5 separate regions of the Homo sapiens genome follow, and regions 1, 2, 3 and 5 are each linked to region 4. Evidence: promoter capture Hi-C in 16 types of primary human blood cells and fetal thymus (Javierre and others, 2016). All regions are on one chromosome and are shown on one strand. The core of a region is centred on a gene start or on the middle of the fragment in contact, and the rest is flanking DNA. Distances in the headings are between cores, read along the strand shown.

Region 1 (5,767 bases), core at 1,370-3,869, 200 kb before region 4:
GTGAAAATAAAAGTACATCATCAAGTGTTGGTGAGGAATTGGAGCAACTGGAATTTTTATACACTGTGGTGGGAGTGTGTATTCGCACAGTCACCTTGGAAAACTGTACTGTAGTATCTACTGATTCCAAAGTCTGTGGTCCAGCAGTTCCACTCTAGGTATATATCCAACATGAATGTATGTACATGGGCACCAGGAGACTTAGAGAAAAATGTTCTTGGAAATCAAGAACTAGAAACAACCCAAATTTCCATCAACAATAGAATAAATAAATAAATTGTGGCATATTCATATAGTGAGACACTATGTAGCAATGAAAATGAACTAACTGTAGCTATACAAACATAAAATATGATGACTGTCACCAACATAATGCCTGCAAATGAAGAGAGGCACAAACAAATGAATACTGTATGTTTGCATTTATGTAAAGTTCAAAAAACAGGTACAACTATAATGTTTGATTATCACAAAATTATGTTTAGGGAGGAAGGAGGAAGCAGAGAATAGGAAAGGACACTAGTAGTCATTTTCTAGTCTCTTACTTTTAAAAAAAATCCTTTATTTTATTTCTTTGAATGTGTTAAAGTTATTTTGTATTCTGTCTAATAGTTTCAATAATCTGAATTATTTGGGGCTGATATTGTGATCTCTTGCTTCTACTGGCTCTTACTCATGGTGACACCAATTTGTGTGTTTTGTGATTTCCTTTTTACTGTTAACTCATATTTCCTGGGATAATGGTTGTGGCAATTTCCTGAGCTCTGGTTTGAAGAGAACTTCCTCTTCAGGGCTTGAATTTGTGTCTGCCATTCACTCTGGGTGCTACCATCCCAGGGTTATATTAAATTAAATTATTGACCTGTGATTTCTTTGAACCATCCAGATGGTTAATTAACACAGGGTGCAAAACTGTATTAGAGCTAGTTTGTGAGTTCTCAGGAGATACATTTTTTCCTCATATTTATCAGTCTGAGATAGGCAATTTTCCCTAGGGTCCTTTGGGAAAAAAAGAGAGTTAGGTATTTATTTCTAGTTATCCTTACTCTAAGAGAAAAAACCTATGGCCCACTTTGTATTTGGGGCCATAACTTCATGTAGCATTTTCTACTGGACTCCTTGTCTCCAGTGTCTATGACTTTATCTCCTATTCCCTGGACTCCACGATCCATGAAAACCAACTACTGTTTGAGTGATACTCTCAAAGGAAAGCTGGAGTCAGTGCTCTGCATACCCCACTGGGCTCCCACTTTCTCTCATTCATTGATCTTTGGGTATTCCTCACTAAACTGCCAGCCCATCGACACATTTTAAAAAGATATATATATATTTTTAAATCCTTAGAAGAAAACATAGAGGAAAAGCTTCATCACCTTGGATTTGGCAATTATTTCTTGGAAATGACACCAAAGGCACAGGCAAAAAAAAAGAAAAAGTAGATAAATTTGGCTACATCAAAATGTAAAACTTCCATGCACCAAAGGACGTAATCAATGAAGTGAAGAGGCAAACTTATGGAATGAGAAAAAATAATTGCAAGTTGTATATCTGATAAGGGGTTAACATCTAGAATATATATATATAAAACTATTACAACTTTGCCGGGTGTGGTGGCTCATGAGAGTTCGAGACCAGCCTGGCAACATGGTGAAACCCTATCTCTACAAAAAATTAGCCAGGCATGCTGGCATGTACCTGTAGTCCCAGCTGCTCAGGAGATTGAGGCGGGAGGATTGCCTGAGTCCGGGAGGTGGAGGTTGCAGTGAGCCGAGATCACACCACTGTACTCCAGCCTGTCCTGTCATGGGAAAAAAAAAAAAAGAAAAAAGAAAAAAGAAAAAAAAACTGCTACAGCTCAACAACAAAACAGCAAGCAACCTGATTTTTTTTTTTTTTTTTGATATGGTGTCTCGCTGTGTCACCCAGGCTAGAGTGCAATGGTGTGATCCATCTCAGCTGACTGCAACCTCCGCCTCTCAGGTTCAAGCGATTCTCATGCCTCAATCTCTCGAGTAGCTGAGACTACAGGTGCACACCACCATGCCTGGCTAATTTTTTTTTTTTTTTTTGTATTTTTAGTAGAGACATGGTGACCTCAAGTGATCCACCTGCTTTGGCCTCCCAAAGTGCTGGGATTACAGGTGTGAGCCATCATGCCTGGCCACAACCTGATTTAAAATAGGCAAGGAATTTAAATAGACATTCATCAAAGAAGATATACAAATAGCCAATACATGCACGAAAAGACGTTCAACATCACTAATCACTAAGGAAATGCAAATCAAAACCACAATGACATGCCAACCTCACCATCAAAAATAAAAAAATAAAAAAGATAAAAAACACCCAGAAAATAACAAGTGTTGACAAGGATGTGGAAAAGTTGGAACCTTGGGCACTGTTGGTGGCAATGTAAAATGGTGCAGCCAGTAGGGAAAACAGTATGACGGTTCCTCAAAAAGTTAAAAATAGAATGACCATATAATCCAGCAATACCACTTGTGAATATATACCCCAAATAATTAAAAACAGGATCTCAAAGAGAGACTTCTATACCCATGTTGACAGCAGCATTATTCATGAGAGCCAAAAGGTGGGAGCAACCCAAGTGTCCATCAACAGATGAATGAATAAACAAAATGTGTTGTATACAGACAATGGAATATTATTCAGCCTTAAAAAGGAAGGAAATTCTGACACATGTTGCAGCATGAGATGAACCTTGAGGACATTGTGCTAAGTGAATAAGCCAGTCACAAAATGACAAATACTGTAGAATTCCACTTACGTGATGGACCTAGAGTAGTCAGATTTATACAGAGAGAAAACAGAATGGTGGTTACCAGGGTCTGCGGAAAGAGGAGAATAGGGAGTTATTGTTTAATAAGTAGAGTTTCAGTTTTGTAAGATGAAAAGAGTTCTGGAGACGGATGGTGGTTAGGATTGCACAACAATGTGAATGCTTCATGCCACTGAACTGTATACTAAAAATGGCTAAGGTGGTAAATGTTATGTGCATTTTGCCACAGTTAAGAAATACATTTTTTGGCCAGGCTCAGTGGCTCACGCCTGTAATCCCAGCACTTTGGGAGGCCGAGGCGGGTGGATCACGAGGTCAGGAGATCAAGGCCATCCTGGCCAACATGGTGAAACCCTGTCTCTACTAAAAATACAAAAATTAGCTGGGTGTAGTGGTGCGCAACTGTAATGCCAGCTACTCAGGAGGCTGAGGCAGGAGAATCACTTGAACCAGGGAGTTGGAGGTTGCAGTGAGCTGAGATGGTGCCACTGCACCCCAGCTTGACAACAGAGCGAGACTCTGTCTCAAAAAAAAAAAAAAAAAAGAAATACATGTATAAGTTACTTTAAATATGTATCCTGCAATTTTAGTTGCTTTTATTCAGAGTGTCAGTCAGGGTACCCAGTCCACTCAAGCTGGAAATAAGATGCTGTCCATGCATGTTAAAAGTGATCCTTAATAGTTCCTTAAATGTAGCCCTCTTGCTAATCTGGAGGCTGCTGAGGAATTCTATCTTGGATAGCATGGTCCTTGCCCATGGCAGTACTGGTGCCGAAGGAGTGACATGTAAACCTCTGATTAGGAGCTTTAGGACCCAGTCAAGAGCCCATTTAGCACAGACTGATGTTAACATAGGCACTGACATGCCACATTGATTGGCTCCTCTGTCAGAAACACAGCTTGCAGAATCCAGTCCAGCACTCAAATGAGGCACCTGTCATTAAAGAGGCCTTGGGCACCAGCTCTGTAGTTAAGGTCACAAGTGCCTTTTTAATCTCTGCCAAGGTATAATTTGGAATCCTATATCTGACCATGTCATTGCCTCAAAAAACTCTGAATTCTCCAAACTCCACCAAAGCTTCTTCTAGGCTTAAATTCTGAAATGAAGGATCCTCAGGTTGTGATGGCTCTAATTGCTAAAAGGTGGCCTGTTCACGACATTCTTGTGATTTACATTTTTAAATACCCTCTCCTTTCATTAGGTGGGGATTTATCTGTCATTAGCATCCATTGTTACCACAGGAAATGACCTGGCCTTGGGCCCTCCACACAGGAAACTGTGGGAACCTGGGCTGGCTCCAGTGCTCATGTGTTGGCTCCAATCCAACACTCCAATCCAATTCAGTGACTCTTTGTTTTAAAGGGAAAGTATTTTATTTTCATGCCACCTTTTCCTTAGATAATTAGAAAGTTATCTTGGGGCAAAAATGTTGAGGTAATTAACATGATGGACTTGAAAGCAACATTTTAAAGCACAGAGCATAGTTGTCATCATTATGTAAGCATTTTTTATATCTTGCATTCTTAGGCTTTGCTTCTGGAATTGAAGGGGCACACCACCTGCCCGTTTACCACCCTAGAAATCATTGATTGCAAGATGGATCTGTGGTCTCTAGAGCGACTTGGGAAGGCTCTGCGGTTCAGTAGTTTGCATTCTCTTGTCCTCGATTACTGCAAGTAGGGCTGGAATTCCTGCAGGGCTCTTACAGCTGTCAGCTGGGGGAAGCAAAGATGGGGAGGGTTGGGGGGGTTGCATGTCCAGTTTCCTTGCACCTTATCAAGGCATGGCTGAAGAGGACCCTCTAAAACCTTAGAGTTAATGTTTCTGAGTAAATATTAGAGTTCTCAAGAAGAGTCACTTTCATTTATTTATTCTTTCAACAGATATTTGTTGAAGGCTAGTTTATGCAAGATATTGTGCTCAGTGCTAAGAAAGATACAAATATAGAAGGCAATGCTGCTGTTCCAAGGTGTCCTTGGTACAGTAGAGAAGAGATGCTCTTAATGCAAGGTAGAAAATCTGAAGACCACAAAAGATGTCCATGTATATTATTTTGGTAGTTTGGACAAGGGAAACCACAATTCCCTAGGTGACGGGTCAATATTCACCAGATGAGGAGGTAGAAAGAAAGGTGTGGTGGGCTGGGCACAGTGGCCCTCACCTGTAATCCCAGCATTCTGAGAGGCTGAGATGGGAGGATCACTTGAGCTGAGGTGGGGGATGAAAGCTGCGGTGAGCCGAGATCATATCACTGCATTCCAGCCTGAGTGACAGAGCAAGACTCTGTCTCAAAAAGAAAACAGAAGAGAGAAAGAAAGAGGAAGGAAGGAGGGGAGGAAGGAAGGAGGGAAGGAAGGAAGGAAGAAGGAAGGAAGGGAGGGAGGGAGGGAAAGAGGGAGGGAAAGGTGTGGTGTTGGGGAGGAGTGGAGCAAGTCCTTCAGAGCTGGGGTATCAAGCATGTTAAGGGAATGTCCACAAGATGAGAATAATAATAATATTTCCAGCTAATGGTTAATGAGTGTTTATTGTGTGCCAAACACGATGCAGGAATGAGCTCATTTCTCCTCCCAACAACCTCATGAGCTATGCACCATTACTATCCCTAGACTGTGGATGAGGTCCACAGACTTGTTCAAGGCTATTCAGTCCCCCAGGGATGGAACCTTGATATGGATTCAGGTTGTCTGAATCAGAGCCCACCTCCGATCCATGACACTAGATTGCCCGGGGTCTATAAGTTGCCGTCCACAAACAACTTCAAACTGTGTGTACCATCTGGAGTAAGTCACAGAACCTTTCTGGTCTGTAATGAAATGATCTCCCCCACTCCAGGAGTCTGTGATTCTGTGACTCTTCCCATGCAATTGGGTGGGGCCTTAGACTCAAAAGGCCAGTGGGCTGTGAGGAGAGAGAGGAGATTCGAGCCTGAGAAGTGGTAGCCCAGAGACACAGAACTGGGATCCGGC
Region 2 (5,521 bases), core at 1,042-3,541, 150 kb after region 4:
ATAATGATTCAATAAACTTCAAAGGCCAGGCGTGTGGGCGCATGCCTGTAATCCCAGCTACTTGGGGGGCTGAGGAAGGAGAATCGCTTGAACCCAGGAGGCAGAGGTTGCAGTGAGCCGAGATCACACCATTGCACTCCAGCCTGGGCAACAAGAGCGAAACTCCATCTCAAAAAACAAACAAACTTCAAAATCTCTAAATTTGGTCATCATTATTTGAAGAAAAGAAAATCTTCTGGCCGGCGCAGTGGCTCACGCCCATAATCCCAGCACTCTGGGAGGCCGAGGTAGGCGGATCTCAAGGTCGGGAGATCGAGACCATCAGGCCGAGGTGGGCAGATCACGAGGTCAGGAGATTGAGACCATCCTGGCTAACATGATGAAACCCCATCTCTACTAAAAATACAAAAAATTAGCTGAGCGTGGTGGTGGACGCCTGTAGTCCCAGCTACTGGGGAGGCTGAGGCAGGTGAATGGTGTGAACCTGGGACGCAGAGCTTGCAGCGAGATTCCGTCTCAAAAAAACAAAAAAACAACAAAAAAAAACAACAAAAAAATAACTTCAGGTAAGCCCACAGATCTTAGCTAACAGCAAGAGGAATTTTTAATAATCTGCTTGAATGTTGATATCTTTTCCAGCCTTCTCTCTCCTTAGGCCAATTATTTAGAAAACTGTATAATAATTAATCCATATGCAAATTTTAAACTATAGCTCAAAAACTTTATTGGCTACTGTAAATTACTACGAATTTTCCAGTGTAGGGTATGGCAAATATTGAATAAGTGCCTCATATGTGAAAGAGCTGGTGCTCAGCACTGATTTTTCAAGAGCAAACTTAAGAAATGAATAAAGTTGTAATGTGTATACACGCACATTATACAACAGCATAGGACTTCTTTGTGTTACTTGTAAAAGGAAAGGTTTTCACTTTCCTCATTATGAATTCCAAAAATTCAAAAACTGTTTTTCAAAATTTTGACTGCTTTCATTACACGCATAATGCTTCCACACTCTTCATTCCTACTCTTTTCAGCAGATAAACATTCTCCTCTTTCCATTAGCAACCAATCCAAGCTTATTATCTTTCTTTTTAGAGGCAAACTGCAACATATCATTTCAATTAAACCCAAAATATTACTCCCATATTTCTTATGCAAAGGTCTTAGGAATAAGCCTCAGCTTCTCACAGAAGATGAAATCATCTATCAACATATGTAACTGATGTTTCTCATTTTATTTTCATTTTGAGATTTTGTACCTACTGTCTAGTGATAAACTTTTGCAACTGTTTCCTCTATATTTTAGATGGCTTAGGCTTTAAAAAAATGGTCTATATGATTTAATTATCAATTTTTTCCTTAAGTGAAGTTCAACAGAATTAATTTTCTCACATTTTCATTAATTATACAGGCTACAGGCAATATTTAAAGTTTTTTTTTAAATATTGGGTATGTTACTCATTTTGTTACTCTATGACTTTCAATTCCTGAATATAAAATAATAAATTTTAAATGACTAAATTTTATTTATTCACTGATTAAATCAGATTTATGACCTCCTCTCTCCATTCCAGCTACTCTGAGTTTTGAATGAAACAACCTCAATTGTAACAGAAGAAACATCTGTTGCTTTTTTTCTTCACCAGGGCTTTCCTAACTGAAAGAAGAAAGACTCTCTGCCTGACCTCCTCTCCCTCTCCCTCTCCCTCTCCCACTCCCGCTCCCCACCCACACTAAGTTCCTTAAAACTTTTTTAAGTAAATGTATTATTTAAAATTTCACTGTATCTATTAAAAACATCATAGTTTAGAAACATTCACTTCCTTATTGAACTTCAAAGAATGACTAAATGCTATTATATATCAAAAAATAAGACGTGTCTAATAGAATATACGTTGTAACTAAAATGCAAACTTCAAGGGTATAATTGAAATGATCAATTCAATCAAGTTGTCATATATTCCGGGGTCATTAAGAATTGTTTAGGGGTAAGATTTTCTTCACAGTATCCAGATTCATATAGCATCTTGTATGCTATATTTTCTTTGCCAGTCCAAGGCTAACATAATGGCAGTCACTACCCCAAGAGGCAGACACCAAATGGTGCCACCCACACTCTCACACTGTGCCTCATAATAAACCATAAAGCAGTGGAATGCACCGGCCCCTTTATGAGCAAACAATGCCTAAGCTTCATTAGAATACAGCTGACATTTTCAAAGCACAAATACTTTTAAGAAAAATGTACTAGGGAAAAAAAGGAATGAAACAGCTATAAAAGCTGAAATATTTTTCAAGTGTCAGGTTGATTTCCAAGGATCCTTGGGAAGTATATTTTGCTGTTGGCAATTTAAAAGTTTTCGTAAGTGGAAAAAATGTTTAGTTAAGGGCAAAGCTTATTTTATTAACTACTGGGGAAAAAAATGAAAGTAAAAACTATCCTTTGAATTGCTTTCACAAGTAATAACCATGAAGTACCTTTAAAATTACTGATTTCCTCAACTGCTGCTTTAGTTCCTGAATTAAGAAAACTGAGCTCCAGAATTATTTTCACATTTTAATTAATTTATATAAGTAACTGAGTAATAAACTAATTCTTCCCCTCCCCCCCCACCCCAACCCCCATACATAACCCTGTAGTTTTTCTGTCTGCAACAAGCAAGGACGTCTTGAAATCAGCGTGCTCCTGGCTATTTATCAATTTAATATTGCTGCTGCTTAAAGAATATAAAATAAGAGCTGTAAAAACTCACCCAGCAGTGAGAAACAAACTGATCTCTCTTACCTGGTCTAAGGAAGCATGCCTCTCACTGCAGTACCAACAACATTCTACAGTCTTTGTTACCATTCAGTGGAAACTTGAGACTGTGTCAGACGTAAGCAATCGAGCTCAGAAAAGCTCAATTTAAAATACTTCTCAGTAAAACTAAAAAGATGCTCAAGAAAACTGTTTAGTTAACTGGCTTTCAAAAGACATATGAATACTGTTTACAACAAAGACATCTCAAAAGAAATTGAAAAGTGCAGGTCTTAGATGAAGGGGCTTTTCTATGTAGAACCTTGTTTTCTTATTAAATTAAAAGGATATTTTTATTTTAAAAAATGCTTAAAGTACACACTTGATCTTAGCCAAAAGGCCGAGAAGCAATAAAAATGCTTAAAGTAAAAAGGGTGAAATAACTACAAGTTAACATTTTTCTAAATATCACTTGCCTTTTAACTAACTTAAAAAATAAGATTAAACTTACTCGTGAAACCTGCATAATTTGAATTATACATATCAGAGTATCTGCTGGCTCCAAAGCAGTCACAAAGCAGGAGACTTAATGCATCTTGAAAGCAGAGCAAAAGCACCACGAGTTTCAGGGGGAAAAGAGGAGGAGAAACTCTTGAAAAACTGGTCGGGGCTTTTTGAACCTGTAATAACTGTCCAGCTCTTGTGGGAGGAAAAAAATGTCCCAGTCCTGCCCCGAGATAGGAGGCTATGCTTCAATGCCAAAATGAATGACAGGCCCATTTCTGATATCAACAAAGAGCAGCTTAGTTGTGCTTTTTTTTTTTTTCCACTTTCCCACACAGAAGTTCTAAAATTTCCAGGTTAGTCCCTTTATAGCTAGGGTTAAGTACCTTTCTCCATTTTCTCAAGAGGGAACTCAATTATGTTGTCCTGGTTTTTTTTTAAATGACTAATTAAATATACATACCTAATCATCTTACTTAGTTTTCCTAGGCAGGAAGCTGAACAAAAGATGACCTCTTAGGTTCCTTTCCAAATCTATTCTTTTCAATATCAGATAACCATATGACTGTCAATATTAATAAGCTTTTCCAGCATCCTGATGTATGGCACAAGTAGAAACAAAAAGCAAGGTAACATTAAAAACAAAGCAACTGAGATAAAATTTTCAACTAGCAAGATGTAAAGATAATTTACCAAGGTATGTGTTTGATTACAGAAATTCAAAACAAACACTCCAATCAACAACATATATTTGCTGAATACTTATTATGAGCCGAGCACTATTTTGGGCCCTGGAGATACAGTAGTGAATGCAACAGACAAAAGCCAAACAAAAAATCTCTGTCTTTCGTGAGCTTAGTTTATTTCAGTTCACTCTAAGTACAACTCTCCTAGATGACTAAGGTACTTTTCCTTCGTTGACTAGTTATCACCTATTCTGAAATATTCCCCTTGGAAAGTATGTCTTGACAACAGCTCCAGGAGACGCTGTAAAGTATTTGGTGCTCCGTTCAGTGTTGTATCACCAGTGTCTAAAACAGTGTCTGTTAGACACTCAAATACATATTGAATCAAATAGATCAGAGAGCTTCTTCTTACTCAAAATTTTCCTTTGCCAACACATATTATACTTACATGCATACAGAGATATGACAACAATAATACAATACAGGGTGTAAATTAAACTGGGTTGTAAACACGTGTTAGTATAAACAAAACTGAAAATACAACCTATATGGCCCTCTATCTTTCCAGATTCTACAATAAAATCTGTTTTCACTACTGGATGTGAGGTCAGTATAATATCTGAGTAAATAAATCACATAAAATTCTATAAAGTAAGTTTTTGTGGACAGTCAGATTTCAGAGGAGTTTTGAAAGAAAAAAGAAACTTGGAAATTACACAGAATCTGATCAGTTTGGTATATTAAAATCTTACATGTTTATATTCATTTACATTCCCACATTTGGAAACAATTTTAAACTCCCCATCCTGCTTTGCACCATTCTTGATCATCTTACCAGATGACGCTTCTTACAGAGAAAATAAGTGTACACCTTTAACCTGTCAGATCAGCTAGAAGTGCTCACCTGTGTCACCCAAGGCCAGAATATTCAGGGGCTAGATATGGTCACACCTACTCTGTTATAGTCTTAAAACAAAAGGAAATTAAACATCCAAGTACTCAAGTATATTCCCGTGTTCTCTTTTTTTTTTTTTTTTTTTGAGACGGAGTCTCGCTCTGTCGCCCAGGCTGGAGTGCAGTGGCGCGATCTCGGCTCACTGCAAGCTCCGCCTCCCGGGTTCACGCCATTCTCCTGCCTCAGCCTCCCAAGTAGCTGGGACTACAGGCGCCCGCCACTACGCCCGGCTAATTTTTTGTATTTTTAGTAGAGACAGGGTTTCACCGTTTTAGCCGGGATGGTCTCGATCTCCTGACCTCGTGATCCGCCCGCCTCGGCCTCCCAAAGTGCTGGGATTACAGGCGTGAGCCACCGCGCCCGGCGTATTCCCGTGTTCTCTAAATAGGAGAGCACCCCCCCGGCCCTCCAATTGTCCAGAGCTAGACAACAATTACAAGTTAAAATATAAACTATTTAGTGTATGTTTTAACAATAAACCTAACAGCAACCCAAGGTCAGAAAGATGTGATAACTGAGGTCAAGTGACAAATAAAATAAGGTGGGGCCAAAGTAGGATTCTACTGTTCTTGCAGAATGAATTTTCCTTTTCCCATTCCTTCCTTCAATAAATACTGAGCACCTATTATGTATCAGGCA
Region 3 (5,284 bases), core at 2,495-4,994, 160 kb before region 4:
TTAGCTTTTGGCTTTCAGCCTCGGCCCTATTGGTCACCACTGCTTTCTATCATGCCAGAAGGAGACAAAAAGAAATGGATGCCACATGTGATCAGTATCCACATCATTCATCATTCTGGGCAGTCAACTTACGTTTTCAAATGCATTTTTCTCTGTGAAGAGATTTTACAAATAGAAAAATCATATTTCATCTTGTTCACGAGTGGTCTCAAGGCATTATTGCAAACACTGTACTTGGAAAAGCACTGAACAGTGAGATAAAGTTTCCATAACACGATTGCAGTTTACACTCTATTAGTCATTGATTCATTGATTCATTGAACAAACATTTATTAAATACCTACCATGTGCCAGATACTATTCTAGTGTGAATAATGTAGCACTGTTATATCATTCATGACAGCTGTCATTTGCTATCATTCCCATGCCTTACTTAGATGTAAGGATGAATGAGATTTAGACAAGTTAGGCTTACCCCTAATAAAACCAAAAGATGGGCCAGTGTTCATCCCTCCAACTGTGTTCTAAAGGAAAATAAATCCTTCCTATTTCCTTTTTTTTTTTTTTTCAAGACAGAGTCTTGCTCTGTCATCCAGGCTATGCAGTGGTGCAATCTCAGCTCACTGCAACGTTTGCCTCCCGGGTTCAAGCAATTCTCCTGCCTCAGCCTCCCAAGTAGCTGGAACTACAGGCACATGCCCCAACACCCGGCTAATTTTTGCATTTTTAGTAGAGATGGGTTTCACCATGTTGGCCAGGCTGGTCTCAAACTCCTGACCTCAAGTGATCTGCCCTTCTTGGCCTCCCAAAGTGCTGGGATTACAGGCGTGAGCCACCACGCCCAGCCAATCCTGTCTGTTTAATCCAACAACCCAGCAGATTAGATTCATGTCCAAAGAAACCAATCAAATCCTTTTTTTAATAGCATACTTTCTACTCTTTTTCCCCAACCGGCAACCTAGGAAGGCCTGATGTCCAAATTTATCTCCTTTTCCTGAAAAGCAAGTTTTCCCTCCAGGCTTGAAAACTTATGCTTGATTATCCTTGACTCTGTTCTCTTCCTTGCTCTAACCACGCTAGTTAACATTCACTTAATGTCGGCTTCATAAGGGGAGGGATTTTTGTCTCTTTTGTTCTCCGTTGGGTCCCTGGCACCTACACCACTGCCTGACACATAATAGGAGCTCGAAAATATTTGTTAAATGCTGAAGGAATTCAAGTCTTGTCTAGCTCCAGGGTTAGGCTCTCGATGGTGGACATTGTGGACAAAATTAGTGTATAGTTAAATGATCCTTTAAAATTCCGTAATTTGCCCACACATTACAATATCTAGGCATATTATCTCTAAGTCCCACACAGTTTCTTCCCCAGTTTTGGAACAGATCACTTGGTCTTTCTTCAGTTGGATCCAGATGAAGTAGTTGGTTAGTGTTTAGGGGGCACATATAACTCTAAACACTTGTAGGCCCCCAGAAAAAGTTTGAACGTGGGACTGCCAATTCCTATTTCCCATCTCATACTTACTGAGTGGATGAGCCCTCATTATGCCTGTGATTATTTCTTTTCCTCCATTCCCTTCCTGTATTTTTCTTTGCCAAACTCCTAAACTTGAACTGACATAAATTAAATGTGGACCTGATGCTGTTTCCCAGCACTGACAATAGACTCTACAAAAGCTGTGTCGACTGACAAGTGTGAACCAACCCCAGGAACCCTGAGCCCAGTCATGAATTCTACAAAGGCAGGATGGTTCTTTCTCCTTCAGATTTTCTCTTTTAAAGCTCAAAAAGGTAACAGCTTTTCAGGCTCCTTTAAAGGGCTGAATTCCTTCACAAGAACTATCACTTCCCCTAGATCAGTGGGCAACTCATTCATCTTCTTCCAGGAAATTTCTAGATACATCATTTTCCTCTTCAAAGTAAAGGCAACAATCTAAATCTTAGATGGAATTTCCTTTCATGCAGAGTAATTTTGGGCTTCTTGTTCTAAAGAAGGAAGGATGTACTGAGTATAAAACGAGGACTTTAAAAATTATATATACAGTATTTCCTTGACTATACTGCAAATGCATCTACTCACACAAGTCCAGTAAAGTACAAGCTAAAAGAATAAAGTCAGCTTAGCTGGTGACAAACAGGGGAACTATTGTCTAAAAATAATAAAATACTTTGATTTTCTTGTAGGAATCAAGAAGAAAATTGAAGGTCTGATGGAAAGTGGTCCTTGGTTAGTGAAGTTGCATTAGGCAGATAATGGCATAGATGGAAAAGGAAGAGAAGGAGAAAATGGTTTATTGGAATTCATTCAAACTTTAACATGGTAAGTAGCAAGTTAAGAGGCTTTATTTGTTCACCTTTTAAAACTAAGTGCTTGAATTAAATCATGGGGATAATTATTTAACTGCACCTTTTTAGCAGTTTCCGATGAGGTTTTTCAGCTCTGAGAGCCAAGCAGTGACCCATCTTGGTCTTGGTACCTAACGTGGCAAACAGTTGTGTGTGGACCATAAAGCAGTCTCAAAGACCTCACTAGAAGCCCCATTTTAAGAAGTTGGCAACTGAGGAAAAACAGGAAGTATGACCTCCCAATTTTTCTTTCTTAAAGTCAGGATATAATGTAAAATGTAATCAATGTGACCTGAGGAAGAAGGGCGGCCTACTCAGGAGTGAACACTCTTTTGTGTTTGATTACAAAGTTGTCCCAGCCTCCTCAGGCAGAAGGACACAGCTATTCTCAAAAGCTTCTCAAAAACAGGATATTTCCTTACCTTGTTTGTCTTGAGAATCTTAGGCATTTCCCTGTCCAGGCCTACTGAGTCCACATCCCCAGTGGGCCAAGTAGGATTTGCAGCTACTGTAGAAAAAGCTTGCTGGGTGGAAACGACTCCAAGATATATAGTTTCAGGTAGTCGATAGTGACAGCACCATGGGGACAGTCAAGGGCAACAGAACACAGCCAAGGCTTGAGGCTTGAGAGCTTGATGGATGGCTACTTAGTATTATTATTACTACTTTTATTTTTATTTTTGAGACACGGTCTTACTCTGTCGCCCAGGCTGGAGTGCAGTAGTGCAATCTCTGCTCACTGCAACCTCCACCTCCCTAGTTCAAGCAATTCTCCTGCGTCAGCCTCCTGAGTAGCTGGGACTACAGGCGTGCACCACCACACCCAGCTAATTTTTGTATTTTTAGTAGAGACAGAGTTTCACCATGTTGGCCAGGCTGGTCTCAAACTCCTGACCTCAAGTGATCTGCCCACCTCGGCCTCCCAAAGTGCTGAGATTACAGGTGTGAGCCACTGCACCCAGTCTACTTATTATTTTAGAAGAAAAATATTCCTTCTCTGTCTGGGCATGGTGGCTCACACCTGTAATCCCAGCACTTTGGGAGGCCGAGGTGGACAAATTACTTGAGGTCAGGAGTTTGAGACCAGCCTGCCCAACATGGTGAAACCGCATCTCTACTAAAATACAAAACAATTAGCTGGGCATGGTGGCAGACACCTGTAATCCCAGCTACTCAGGAGGCTGAGACAGGAGAATCACTTGAACCCAGGAGGCAGAGGTTGCAGTGAGCCAAGATCGTGTGCACTCCAGCCTGGGCAACAGAATGAGACTTCATCATGAAAGAAAGAAAGGGAAGGGAAGGGAAGGAGAGGGGAGAGGAGGGGAGGGGAGAGGAGGGGAGGGGAGGGGAGGGGAGGGGAAGGGAAGGGAATCTTCTCTAATATACTTATTCAGGAAGGCTGGGAAGATTTTCAACTTTAATAGCTTCTCTGCTTTTCTATAATAATCCTATTAATAACCTTCATTTCATTGCCCTTTTAACACAATGCTGATTTAATATATTGCTGATATATTATGCTTTTAGTATATTGCTAAAATTTTGTTAAGGATTTTTGCATCTATGCTCATGAAGCATATTAGTCTGTACTTTTCTTTTTTTTTTTTTTTTTTGAGATGGAGTCTCGCTCTGTTGCCTGGGCTGGAGTGCAACGGCATGATCCCGGCTCACTGCAACCTCTGTCTCCGGGTTCAAGGGATTCTCCCACCTCTGCCTCCCAAGTAACTGAGACTACAGGTGCGGATCACCATGCTTGGCTAATTTTTTGTATTTTTAGTAGAGGTGGGGTTTCACCATGTTCGCCAGTCTGGTCTTGAACTCATGATCTCAAGTCATCTGCCCAGCTAGGCGTGAGCTACCACACACAGCTGTACTTTTCTTTTCTCGTAATATCTTTGTCTGGCATTAAGATCAGGGTAATTCTGGCTTTACAGAATGAGCTAACAAGTGTGCCCCTCTCTTCTATTTTATGAAATAATTTGTGTAGCATTGGCATTATCTCACCCTTAAATATTCAGTAGAATTATCAGTGAAAACATCTGGACCTGGAGCTTTCTTTATGGGAAGGTTTTTAACAACAAATTCAATTTTTTTTTTTTTTTTTTTGAGATGGAGTCTCTCTCTGTCACCAGGCTGGAATGCAGCAGTGCAATCTCGGCTCACTGCAACCTCCACCTCCCGGGTTCAAGTAATTCTCCTGCCTCAGGCGTGAGCCACCATGCCTGGTCTAAATTCAATTTCCTTAATAGATATAAGGCTATTCTGGATATTTTATCTTGAGTAAAGCTTTAGTAGTTTGTGTCTTTCAAGAAATTTATTTCATCTAATTTGTCAGATTTATTGGCATAAAGTTCTTCATAATATTTTCTTACGATCCTTTTAATGTCTGTAGCATCTATAGTGATGTCTCCTTTTTCATTCTTGATATTGATTACTTGTGTTTTCTCTTTTCTGATTGATCTGGTTAGAAATTTATTAATTTTATTGATCTTCTCAAGGAACCACTCTTGATTTTCACTACTGTTTTTCTGTTTTTAACTTTATTGATTTCATCTCTTGTCTTTATTATTTCCTTTATTCTGCTTACCTTGGGTTTAATATGCTCTTCTCTTTCTCGATTATTAAAGTGAAAGCTTAAGTTATTGATTTTAAGTTTTAATTTTTCTAATATAAATGTTTATGTTAGCACTAAGCACTGCTTTTATTGTATCCTACAAATTTCGATATGTTATATTTTCATTTCATTCAGTTCAAAATATTTTCTAATGTTCCTTTTCATTTCTTCTCTAACCTATGGGTTATTTAGAACAGCTCTGTTTGGTTTCCACATATGTGTATATTTTTTCAGATATCATTCTGTTTTAATCAAGAGATTAAGAATCTCTTGATTCTTAATTAAGTTCTGCTGTGGTTGGAAAACATACCTGGTGCAATGGCATGAT
Region 4 (5,014 bases), core at 709-3,208:
GAAAAAGCCTGTTATCAACTCTACCAGTATTTTAGGTTTCCTCTAACCTGTAGTTATATTTGTAATGAGTTGAAAATAGTTAACTACTTCCATTCTTTTTTTTTTTTTTTTTTTTTTTTTTTTTTTTTTTTGAGACGGAGTCTTGCTCTGTCGCCCAGGCTGGAGTACAGTGGCGGGATCTCGGCTCACTGCAAGCTCCGCTTCCTGGGTTCACCCCATTCTCCTGCCTCAGCCTCCCGAGCAGCCGGGACTACAGGCGCCCGCTACCACGCCCGGCTAATTTTTTTGTATTTTTAGTAGAGACGGGGTTTCACCGCGTTAGCCAGGATGGTCTCGATCCTGACCTCCTGATCCGCCTGCCTCGGCCTCCCAAAGTGCTGGGATTATAGGCGTGAGCCACCGCGCCCGGCAGGTAACATTCTTTAGTTCTTTCAATCTTGCCTATGATTTAAAGAAGTGCATTCCAGTCTGCTTGCATGGTGCTTTGCTATTTCTAATACTCATTTCATGCCAAACTCTCCAACATGCTTCTACAAATCTTTTGGTGTCATTAGCTCAAAACGTAAATGGATTTTGGTTATTTTCAATGTCATAATTATAAATTTAGCTTTTTTAAGCGTGAAAAAAGCACTTTATAGGAATATATTTTACCACTTTTCCATTTGTGGGAGGTATAATTCATTATTTCTTGCTTTGGTAAGAAAAGTGAGGAAAAAGGAAAATTCATCCATTTGCAGGCTGTTTAAACTTCCAGACAGATTATAATTCATCACTCCAAACAATAAGATGGCTATTACATTTCTCCATAATTTTTATTTGCTAATAAAACGGAGGCAGAGCTTTTTTCTAAAAATAAATAAATAAACAACAACAACAACAACCTCCCCCACCCCGCACCTTCTGTGCAAATTCCTATAAAGTCTTTTATCCTGTCGCTGAGTCTGAGGGCACCCCCCCTCCCGTACTCGTCAGCTCCATCTCGCGGAGGAAAACGCTACCGGCACCCTCAGCTCCGCCCAAGGGCCGCGATCTCTACAGGGGAGATGAAAAGCCGGCGACACTACACAGGCGTGGACCCTCCAACGAGTGTTCCTTTCCTGTGGGTTAAGAGTAGGAGCGTCTGGGCAAAAGCTGGGAGCTTTCAGTTGCCAGGACCCTTGGGAAAGCACGTATTTAGATTTCATTGATAAATTCAACTGAATCCCGAGAAAAATTATACTCCATTCACTGGCATATTTAGAACGGAATTCCCATTGACCCGAGGCTCCCGGTTGAACCCTTCAAGGGAGCCAAGCGAGGACGTTCTCAGAACAGCAGTGCACCGTGTACATTGTGGGAGCCCCGCGCGATCCCCCGCAGAGCGTCCTGTAGGAACGTCACAGAGCCCAGAGAGCGTCCTGTAGGAACGTCACAGAGCCCAGAGAGCGTCCTGTAGGAACGTCACAGAGCCCAGAGAGCGTCCTGTAGGAACGTCACAGAGCCCAGAGAACGCCTGGGGACGGTCGGGGAGGCAGTTCGGGGAGGGGACGATTAAGTTCCCTCAGAGAGGAAGCCGCGGGCCGACTGGAGTCGTTTTCGTGCTCTCCGCACCCGCCCGCCGCGGGTAGCATCTTCTCAGCGCCCCGGCGCCCAGGAACGCCCAGGAAACCCAGTCCTCCTCCTAAGCAACCTGCGGCGCGGGGACGCCCGCCTTTTGCTATTATTATAAACGTGCGTGCGACTAAACCTTCGGATTTTTAGACTTTCTTCTCGCTTCCTCTGACCCAGGCTGAGGGAGCCCCCGAGGCTACTGCGGGGCGGGGCCGGGGCGGGGTGGGGCGCCCTCGCCGCCTCAGGCAGCGCCCCGGCCGCTGGCGGGAGGCGGCAGCGGCGCGGGCCGAGCGGCGCGGGGATTGGCTGCGGCGGGCGGAGACGTCAGGCTCCCGCGGCCCAAGCGGCCGCCCGGCGCGGCGCGGCGCAGTCGGCTCGAGTACTCCCCGTAACGAGGAGGTGTTCTCGGCCGTCCCACCCTTCACTGCCGTCTCCGGGCTGCGCCGCCGGAGCCGGGACGCGCCTCCGCAGCCCTCGCCGCCTCCATCCCCGCGGCCGCAGCTCCTCTCGCCGTCCGCGCGCACACCATGACGAAGAACGAGAAGAAGTCCCTCAACCAGAGCCTGGCCGAGTGGAAGCTCTTCATCTACAACCCGACCACCGGAGAATTCCTGGGGCGCACCGCCAAGAGCTGGGGTGAGCGGGCAGCAGCTGGGCGTCCGGGGCCGGCCTCGGTCCCGGGGGCGCCGGGCGCGGTCTGGTGGGAACGGAAAGGCGGGAGGCGGCTCCCAGCGCCGGGGCTCCCGACCGCCCGACCCTAACCCGGGCGGCGGCGGCGCAGTGCGGCCCCATTCATTGCTCCCCGGGCCGGCCGGACTGGCCGCAGCTCGCTCCCGAAGCAGCGGGGCCCGCGGGCAGCCCGGCCGGGCCGCGCTGGTTCCTCCCTCCCTGCTGGGAGCGGGGCGCACGTGCTGCCCGGGCCTCCCGCCCGGCGCGGCGCCGGAAGCCGGGGACCCCTGCCCGAAGCCGGGCCCCGAGAGTGCAGGAGCCGAGCCCCCGGGCCTCCTTTGTACGGAGCGCTCCGGCCCGAGAGGCCCTGGCGGAGGCGCCCGGCCCGCTGAGCGGTTCGGAGAAGCCAGACCCTGCCCCACTCCAGGGGAGAGGAAATTTCCACTCCCGCCGCTATCTTGTGACTCGTCCACGCTGCCACCCCGACCGGTCGGAAGAGTGCGACTGAGTGTTAAGTGTGGGTGTGGGTTGCTTAAACGTGTAGCGGTGAGTTAATCACAGAAGTACATTGTACAAGAAAATGCACTTGAATTTGGACAGTGAAAAGGCCCTTAAAAAGGTTGGTTCCTCCCGGATTCCTTTTTAATTACAGAGGTTTTCTTCCTTACAAATTTGCTTCTTTGGGGAAAGTAAATCCTGTCTGAACAACACAGGTTTTTTTTTTTTTTCCCGTGTCTTCAAAACAGGAGAGTGATGGTTGTATGTTAGCAGATTTTTTCTATGCGTGAGCTCTTTGTTTTAATATATTTAAACCATCTACCGTGTAGAGTAGCTTTAGGATGCCTTTTTTTCCTAAAATTGTATCAATCTCTGAATGCAGGCTAGAGCTTTTTTTTTTTTTTGCCTTTATACTTAAGTAAACTAATTTTACCTTTTTAAATCCTTTTGAAACATTTTGTTAGTGGGTCTTGAAAGACCATTTCTTTCTGAGTGGGAATAAATCTCGAGAGCTTAGAACTATTTGGGCACAACATTTTTAGGATAAGCATGGAGAAATAAGCTGTGACTCAGAAAATAAACTGTTGGTGCAGACTGAAATGGACTCCTTCAGGGTGAAAAGGCGACTTGAAGTCTTATCACAAGCTGAAAGGGGCCTTGGAGGATTTTTAGCCCAACCCCCACTTTAGAGATGAGAAAAATGAGACCCAGAGAGGTTGTGATTTTTGCCTTGTGTAAAATTACATATGCCACAAAGCCAAGAAAAGAACCCAGTTCTCCTTTAATCCTAGTCCAGCGGTTGTATTATTTTACAGATGCCTTGCCTAACTGCATGGTAATCACTCATGATTTTTATTTAAATTGCTGTTTTCTTTTGGGAACCCACTAGTGTGATGAAGAAATAAATCTTGCATCCAGACTTACATGGGAACAAAAGATGAACATTTATAAAGCTTAATTGCTTGTTTCTAGAGTGTACTAACTTTTTGCTGAAGAAATTTTTGAGTGGTGGAGAGAGATTAATTTTGATAGGCTACCTTCCTCCCTTTCTCCCTTCCCCAGTGCTTCCTCATTTCCAGAACGGAGTAACTCCACTTTGTGTTAGAATGACATTTCTTACTGCAGATAGTGCTCTTCAACCTTTGTATTGTATGACCTAGGGTAGAGATTTTATTTTATTGAGTCAATGCATTTAAATAGATAACATGCACAAATAAATAGAGAGCAATGTGTAAGGACTGTAAAACTAGTACAAGTGAAGTTGGGATTCATTTTGGAAGGATTAAGTCAATCTCTTCAAAATCGATAAGTATTACTCTTATCAGTAAATTTTTTGTTTATTGTAATAATAGTAAGTCAGTGAAGAATGGCATATATAGGTGAAAATTAACCATAATCCTGTCCCAATGTAAGGGTATCCCTCTAAGGATATGTGAGGGAGTCGTGAGAGGAGGCCGAAATCCATATTCAGCTTGCCAGGCTGTGTATCCTAGACCATGGTTGGGTCTGCCTAGAGAAGGGGCACCTTGTTCTAATTCTTGCAAAGGCAGGATCAGTTTGGAGAGCTCTGTGCCTCTGGGGATATGTCTGCCAGGAAGGATTCTTTTTTTAATTCTCTTGAAGGGACTGTATGGGCTTGCTGCCAGATGTCATCATACCTCAGAGATACTATTAACATTCTGGTATATATGTTACTGAATTGTGTATAACATTTTTTTTAAAACAAAAGGATCATAAAGTGTTGTTTTATATTCTGAGTATATTGTGGGCATCTTTCCATGTTACTAAAGATTTTTAGACAGGTTTCCCTATATTCACCCTTTTCATGTACATTTTTGCACATTTATTTCCTTGGTATATATTTATACCGATGGGATTTCTAGGCCATTCATATGTACTTTTTACATTTTGAAAACTTGTTTTCATGTGCTTTCCAGGAAGTTTCTAACAATTTATACTCCCAACGGTATGTAGTGGTGTCTCATACCTTCATCAGCACTGAGGCTATTTTTACCTGTGTTATCTCTTTTAAAACCTTACATTTTTGGGGCCGGGCGCGGTGGCTCACACCTGTAATCCCAGCACTTTGGGAGGCTGAGGTGGGTGGATCACTTGAGGGCAGGAGTTCAAGACCAGCCTGGCCAACATGGTGAAACCCTGTCTCTACTAAAAATGAAAAAAAAAAAAATTAGCCGGGTGTGGTGGCACCTGCCTGTAATCACAGCTACTTGGGAGGCTGAGGCAGGAGAATTGCATG
Region 5 (5,393 bases), core at 2,497-4,996, 230 kb before region 4:
TGTTTTCTGCCTTTCCCAAGGCCTAGTTGTTCAGCTGTCCCTTAGCAGTGTATTAGTCAGGGTTCTCCAGAGAAACAGAACCACTAGGATGGGGGTGGGTGTGTCTTGAGAGAGAGACAGAAACAGAGAGAGAGAGAGAGAGAGAGATTTTGAAGAATTGGCTCGTGCAATCGTAGCAGCTGGCAAGTCTGAAATCTGCAGGGCAGGCCTGCCAGCTGGAGACCCAGGGAAGAGCTGAGGTTGCAGTTCAAGTCCACAGGCAGTCCAGAGGCAGAATTCCTTCTTCCTCGAGGGACTTCTCCGTCTTTTCTCCTAAGGTCTTCAACTGACTAGATTAGCGATCACCCACACCATGGAGAGTGATCTGCTTTACTCAAAATCAATTTATTTAAATGCTAATTACATCTAAAAAATGCCTTCCCAGCAACATCTGGACCAGTGTTTGATCAAAAACTGGGTACCATGGCCTAGCCACGTTGACACTAAAATTACTTATCACAAGGATTCTGCCAATACATCCTCTTTTTTTTTTTTTTGCCCTAGTTAATTGGAAATATTTTCTGTTGCTTGCAACTGCAGAACACGAACTGCTACAGAATGTAATTTGTTTCAACACCAGTCTGTCCAAATTGAACTTTGACCTGACAGGTTGATAATTTGCCTCAGTAAACAGAGATCTGACTGTGAGTAGCGGGGGTTCCCTTTCCTATGGCATCACTTAATTTTTATATGAAAATAAGGCATATGTTAATAATAGCAAAAATACTTTAAAAATAATATATGGCCTACCTCTCACTAGTTCTTGTCTTTACTTGCTATTTTTGGACCTCAGATCCCTGGAAGTTCCTGGGAGATGTTTTCGGGTGTTTCACACAGATCCCCCAGCTAGCCCAGGCAGCTGAAGTGTTGCTCTGCTTTCCTTCTCCTCCCCTGTCATCTGCTGGGCCCAGACACAGCTCTAATTGGTCATCGCTGTTAGCGCCGCTGAGCCACCCTTTCCTCCCGAAGACTGCCACCAGGCCATGTGAGGTCTTGAACTACCCAGGGCCTGCAGGGAGGCTGGGAGCTTGGCTAGGGTACCACACTCCCTTGCTCCCCACTGTCTGCTCTCCCACATCAAACCAACCACAGAGGCATGCTTATTAGTACATGTACACCTCCCCCTTCCACGGATAAGGCTAGCTCCTTTTTCCTTTAGGAAACCTCCCTGGTCTTCCACATCCAGTCAACTTCAGATAGCCCATGCTGTCAATTCTTCAGATGTGCCCAACAGATCTGAAATTTAGCAATGGTCCCAACAGGGGCTGGGATGAAGCCCCTGCTATAAGAGCAATAGAGCTACAGACCTGTGGCACCTTGGATAATCAAATCAAATTTAAAACATTGGGTCAAACCATTGGTTTGATCTAAATCATCCATACTCTCAGACTTCAAAACAAACCAGGGCTGGGCGCGGTGGCTCACACCTGTAATCTCAGCACTTTAGGAGGCCGAGGTGGGCTGATCATGAGGTCAAGAGTTCGAGACTATCCTGGCCAACATGGTGAAACCCTGTCTCTACTAAAAATACAAAAAAATTAGCTGGGCGTGGTGGTGCGTGCCTGTAGTCCCAGTACTTGCGAGGCTGAGGCAGGAGAATGGCGTGAACCCGGAAGATGGAGGTTGCAGTGAGCTGAGATCTCGCCACTGCACTCCAGCCTGGTGACAGAGCGAGACTCCATCTCAAATAAATAAACAAACAAAAAAAAAACAAAAAAAAAAAAAGCAAATCCGTATGCCCATATGCCTGTTAGCTAGACTTCTTCTCCAACTGGATATAAAATTGAATGGAAGCATTACTCACCTTCATAGATATTTTGGCTGGGAAGGCAGCTCATTAAGTTCCCCAAGGAAAAATTAAACTATCTGGGGGAATACAAAGCATTAACAACTACAGAATCTGAAAAGTAACAGAAAGTTCACTAGTTGCAAATATGTGAACTCATATAATAGGAAATACTTTCTGATGCTTGCAACCACAAGACTAATTAATGAATCTGTTCAAACTTAAATTTACTTAACGAGCTGCTACTCTACCTCAAGAAATTATATATTGTATTTGAGAATATACCCATTTTCAGCATATAACACTTAACTATTTGTGGAAATGACTATGTTTTAAAAATAAAACAATTTCATGCATTAACAATACCATAAAGAATTATGTAGAATAGTGAGGACTGAATGACACAAAGAGAGTTCAATAATGAGAATGTCATCTTCTCCATTGTGGTGTCTTAGGCTTGTGAGAAAGAAAGCTGTGGGAGTTAAATAAAATGTCTAAAACTAACTTTTTAATTCAGTAATTTTTGTCTGGATTCTAAGCTGAATTTTGAGTCAGCAAAAGCAGGAGCTATTTGTCTCTGCCATCCCACACAAAGCCCACAGGGAACATACCTTTCTTCTCAGGCTTAGCAAATGTTCTTGTGCACTCAGATTTCTGAATCTGCAGCGCTTTGCACGGCTGCCACAAGGACACTCGCAACATGAGAACTTCAGTGTACAAAGGTGGTGATTGCAAATCTACAATGAAATTCTATTCTTGGATTCCACAAGAATAAAAAAGTCTTTGCTCCTCTTCTGTACCCAGGAAAGGGAACCTAGGAAGACCACTGGAGCGAGGACAATTATGGAACCATGCAACTGGACTTCCAAATTCAATGAATTGCATGCCTGCAAGCTTTCTTCATGGTCCATAGCCCACATTCACCTCACAAGATGGGGGAAGAGATAAAACACTTTGGTTTTCTTAATGCAATGTTGGTGTTTCTTTAAGAAAGTATAGCCTAGACCAGGCTGGGTGCAATGGCTCACACCTGTAATCCTAGCACTTTGGGAGGCCGAGGCAGGTGGATCACTAGGTCAGGAGTTCAAGACCAGCGTGGCCAACATGGTGAAACCCCATCTCTACTGAAAATACAAAAATAAGCTGGGCATGGTGGCGCATTCCTGTAATCCCAGCTACTCAGGAGGCTGAGGCAGGAGAACTGCTTGAACAAGGACCCAGGAGGCGGGGTTTGCAGTGAGTCGAGATCACGCCACTGCACTCCAGCCTGGGCTACAGAACAAGACTCCATCTCAAAAAAAAAAAAAAAAAAAACAAAAAAAGTATAGCCTAGACCTTTATCACAAGCACAAAGTCAAGGCACCCAAAGTCCAAACACTCCTTTACCTCATGGAGACATCCAGTCTTCCAGCCCAGAGTCCACAGTGGTTTGGGAGTGGCTCCCCTCTGTCTTGAACTCATCCGACCCAGATTCTCCAGGGACGTGGTCTTCATAGGGAAGCCCTTGGGGCTCCACACCTAAGAGCCCTCCAGTTCCTTGGCCCTTTCTCACCTTCTTCCCCAGGGTCCTCTTTGCAGCTTCTCATCTATGTGGACAATCATTCCATTTTCCTCTTGATGGTGTGGGAGGAGGACTGTAGTCCTGGAGATGAGGCATCTACAAGGCAAGTAGGCCTTCATGTTGTAAAAAATGGCCCCCTCTTAGTTTACTGTGTGTGTTGAGCTTAAACTATGTTATTATACTGAAAAAGGGAGGGGGTGCTGAGTTGCATTACCAAGGCCATATCTGTTAACTCAACTTCAGTATGCAGCAGGAAAGCAAAATTGCTGGGAACTGGGGAGGATGAAGGGAAGAAAAAAGTTCCGTCCTATTACCAAATATAAAATTGAATACTCAAATTTATTTGAATAAGATTTAAGTTAATTTGAGTTAATTAATTTGAATAAGAAGAAGTTGTCAACTTCAGCAATAAGACTTTGACCTCATATTTTTGCCCTATTTACCAACAACTACTAAAAGAGGTGCTTGATATTTTGCAGCAGATAGCAAAGTACAATAAGATCTTACCTGAAGAAAAGGCAACAAATTTTATTCCGCCTGGCTCTTCTGGTATGCTACTTCTGCTCTGTGATCTTTTAAGGTGACAGATTTATTAGGTTTCTGGATATTATTTCCTTGCAAATACTTGACACAGAGAACTTGGCCATGAGAACAGAAAAGATGGGGAGATAACATTTTTAAAGCAGGCATGCTGGATTTGGAGAGGAGCAGAAAGGACCTCCAAAACAGTTACGGTGCTCTAGAGACTGAGCCAACAGAATGTGTGTATAGATAGGTTTATCATAAGGAATTGGCTCACATGATTGTGGAGGCTTGGCCAAGTTCAAAATCTGATGGGGCAGGCTGGAGACTCAGAGAAGAGTGGGAATTTGAATCCAAAGGCAGTCTGCAGGCAGAATTCCTTCTTTCAGCTGGGAGGTCAGTCTTTGTTCTAGTAAGGGCTTTAACTGTTGGGAGGAAGTCCTCCCACATGACAGAGGGCAATCTGCTTTACTCAGAATCCACTGATTTAAATGTCAATCTCACCCAAAAAAACATCCACACAGAAACATCTGGAATCATGTTTGACCAAATATCTGGGCACCATGGTCTGGCCAGATTGGCACATAAAATTAACCATCATACTAGGGAAATGGTGATAGGTCCAAATTCCCAGAAGGAATGGCTCCTCAGGGAACAAAATCCGGGACAGTGCTGGGAAGGCATGCACTAGTGGCCCCCAGGATCATGTCTGGTGTTGATGGATTTTCAATTGGGGTACTGAGGAAGAGCAGTGGTTTCTGTAGCAATCAGAAAGACCAGGTACCAGAGAATCTCAGAACCAGAAGAGATTTTGGAATTTACAGGGCAGAGGTCGTCAGACTTAAGCATGCTTCAGAATCACCTAGAAGCTTTGTTATAACAGATGGCTAGATCTTGTCATACTCAGAGTATCAGAGTAACAGTCCAAAATTTTGCATTTCTAACAGTTTCCCAGGTGGAAGGACAATGGCCGCACTGCAGTCAAGTATAGGCCGAGGTACACATCCGGCATAGCATGACACAGCAGGATTGGAGCACAGGCACACAATCCTGTGTATTAAACCACCACAGCTATGTAGCCATAACATGGGAGGGCTCATCACATGACTCTGAGCCACTGTTGTCTGTGAGGTGCATAAATGCAGCACTGACAGTGTGAAAGAGCTGCTGAACAAAGCCATGTCCCACCTGCCTGTGGTCTCTCGCATGTTCTTTCAGCTGCCCTCCCCTCATCAACCGACTCCCCTTGGACCTCAGCTTGGGCCGGAACCTGACACCAGGTGATGCTGAGGCTGCTGGTCTTGGGACTACATTTTGAGAACCACGGACCTAGGACCTTGCTATTCCAATTATAGCCCACAGACCAGCAGCATTAGCAGGATCCACGAGCTTCTTAGAAATGCAGGTCTCAGGCCCCACTCTTCACCTACTATACCAGACTCTCACGTTGACAAGATCCCCATGTAACTTGTGTGCACATTAAAA

The links. Contacts are between HindIII fragments. The CHiCAGO score rates a contact against its expected background, and 5 or more counts as called.
Region 1: a fragment that was not itself captured here is called in contact with the fragment with the promoter of ATP1B3 in region 4 in 4 of 17 cell types (M0 macrophages, M2 macrophages, monocytes and 1 more); the score reaches 8.3 in M0 macrophages.
Region 2: a contact is called between a fragment that was not itself captured here and the fragment with the promoter of ATP1B3 in region 4, in 1 of 17 cell types (fetal thymus). The highest score is 6.8, in fetal thymus.
Region 3: a contact is called between a fragment that was not itself captured here and the fragment with the promoter of ATP1B3 in region 4, in 1 of 17 cell types (endothelial precursors). The highest score is 5.2, in endothelial precursors.
Region 5: a contact is called between a fragment that was not itself captured here and the fragment with the promoter of ATP1B3 in region 4, in 1 of 17 cell types (monocytes). The highest score is 6.7, in monocytes.

Annotation. Positions count from the first base shown.
Region 1 is chr3:141,677,157-141,682,923 of GRCh38, forward strand. It overlaps the pseudogene LRRC78P. Among named protein-coding and RNA genes, the nearest start is that of RNF7, 58 kb to the right of the region's middle. The HindIII fragment of the contact is 2,514 bases long and covers 1,363-3,876 here.
Region 2 is chr3:142,025,794-142,031,314 of GRCh38, forward strand. All of the region lies in intron 3 of TFDP2 (transcription factor Dp-2), which reads right to left. Among named protein-coding and RNA genes, the nearest start is that of TFDP2, 120 kb to the right of the region's middle. RefSeq lists a silencer at 2,147-2,196 and enhancers at 2,583-3,084, 3,491-3,540. The HindIII fragment of the contact is 204 bases long and covers 2,190-2,393 here.
Region 3 is chr3:141,711,109-141,716,392 of GRCh38, forward strand. It overlaps the pseudogene LRRC78P. Among named protein-coding and RNA genes, the nearest start is that of RNF7, 25 kb to the right of the region's middle. The HindIII fragment of the contact is 1,763 bases long and covers 2,864-4,626 here.
Region 4 is chr3:141,874,685-141,879,698 of GRCh38, forward strand. ATP1B3 (ATPase Na+/K+ transporting subunit beta 3) reads left to right here and starts at 1,959. Exons shown (of 7, transcript NM_001679.4): 1 at 1,959-2,226. The coding sequence starts at 2,118. RefSeq lists silencers at 854-913, 1,784-1,913, 2,184-2,753. The HindIII fragment of the contact is 6,749 bases long and covers 1-3,708 here.
Region 5 is chr3:141,647,618-141,653,010 of GRCh38, forward strand. No RefSeq gene overlaps it. Among named protein-coding and RNA genes, the nearest start is that of RNF7, 88 kb to the right of the region's middle. The HindIII fragment of the contact is 2,058 bases long and covers 2,718-4,775 here.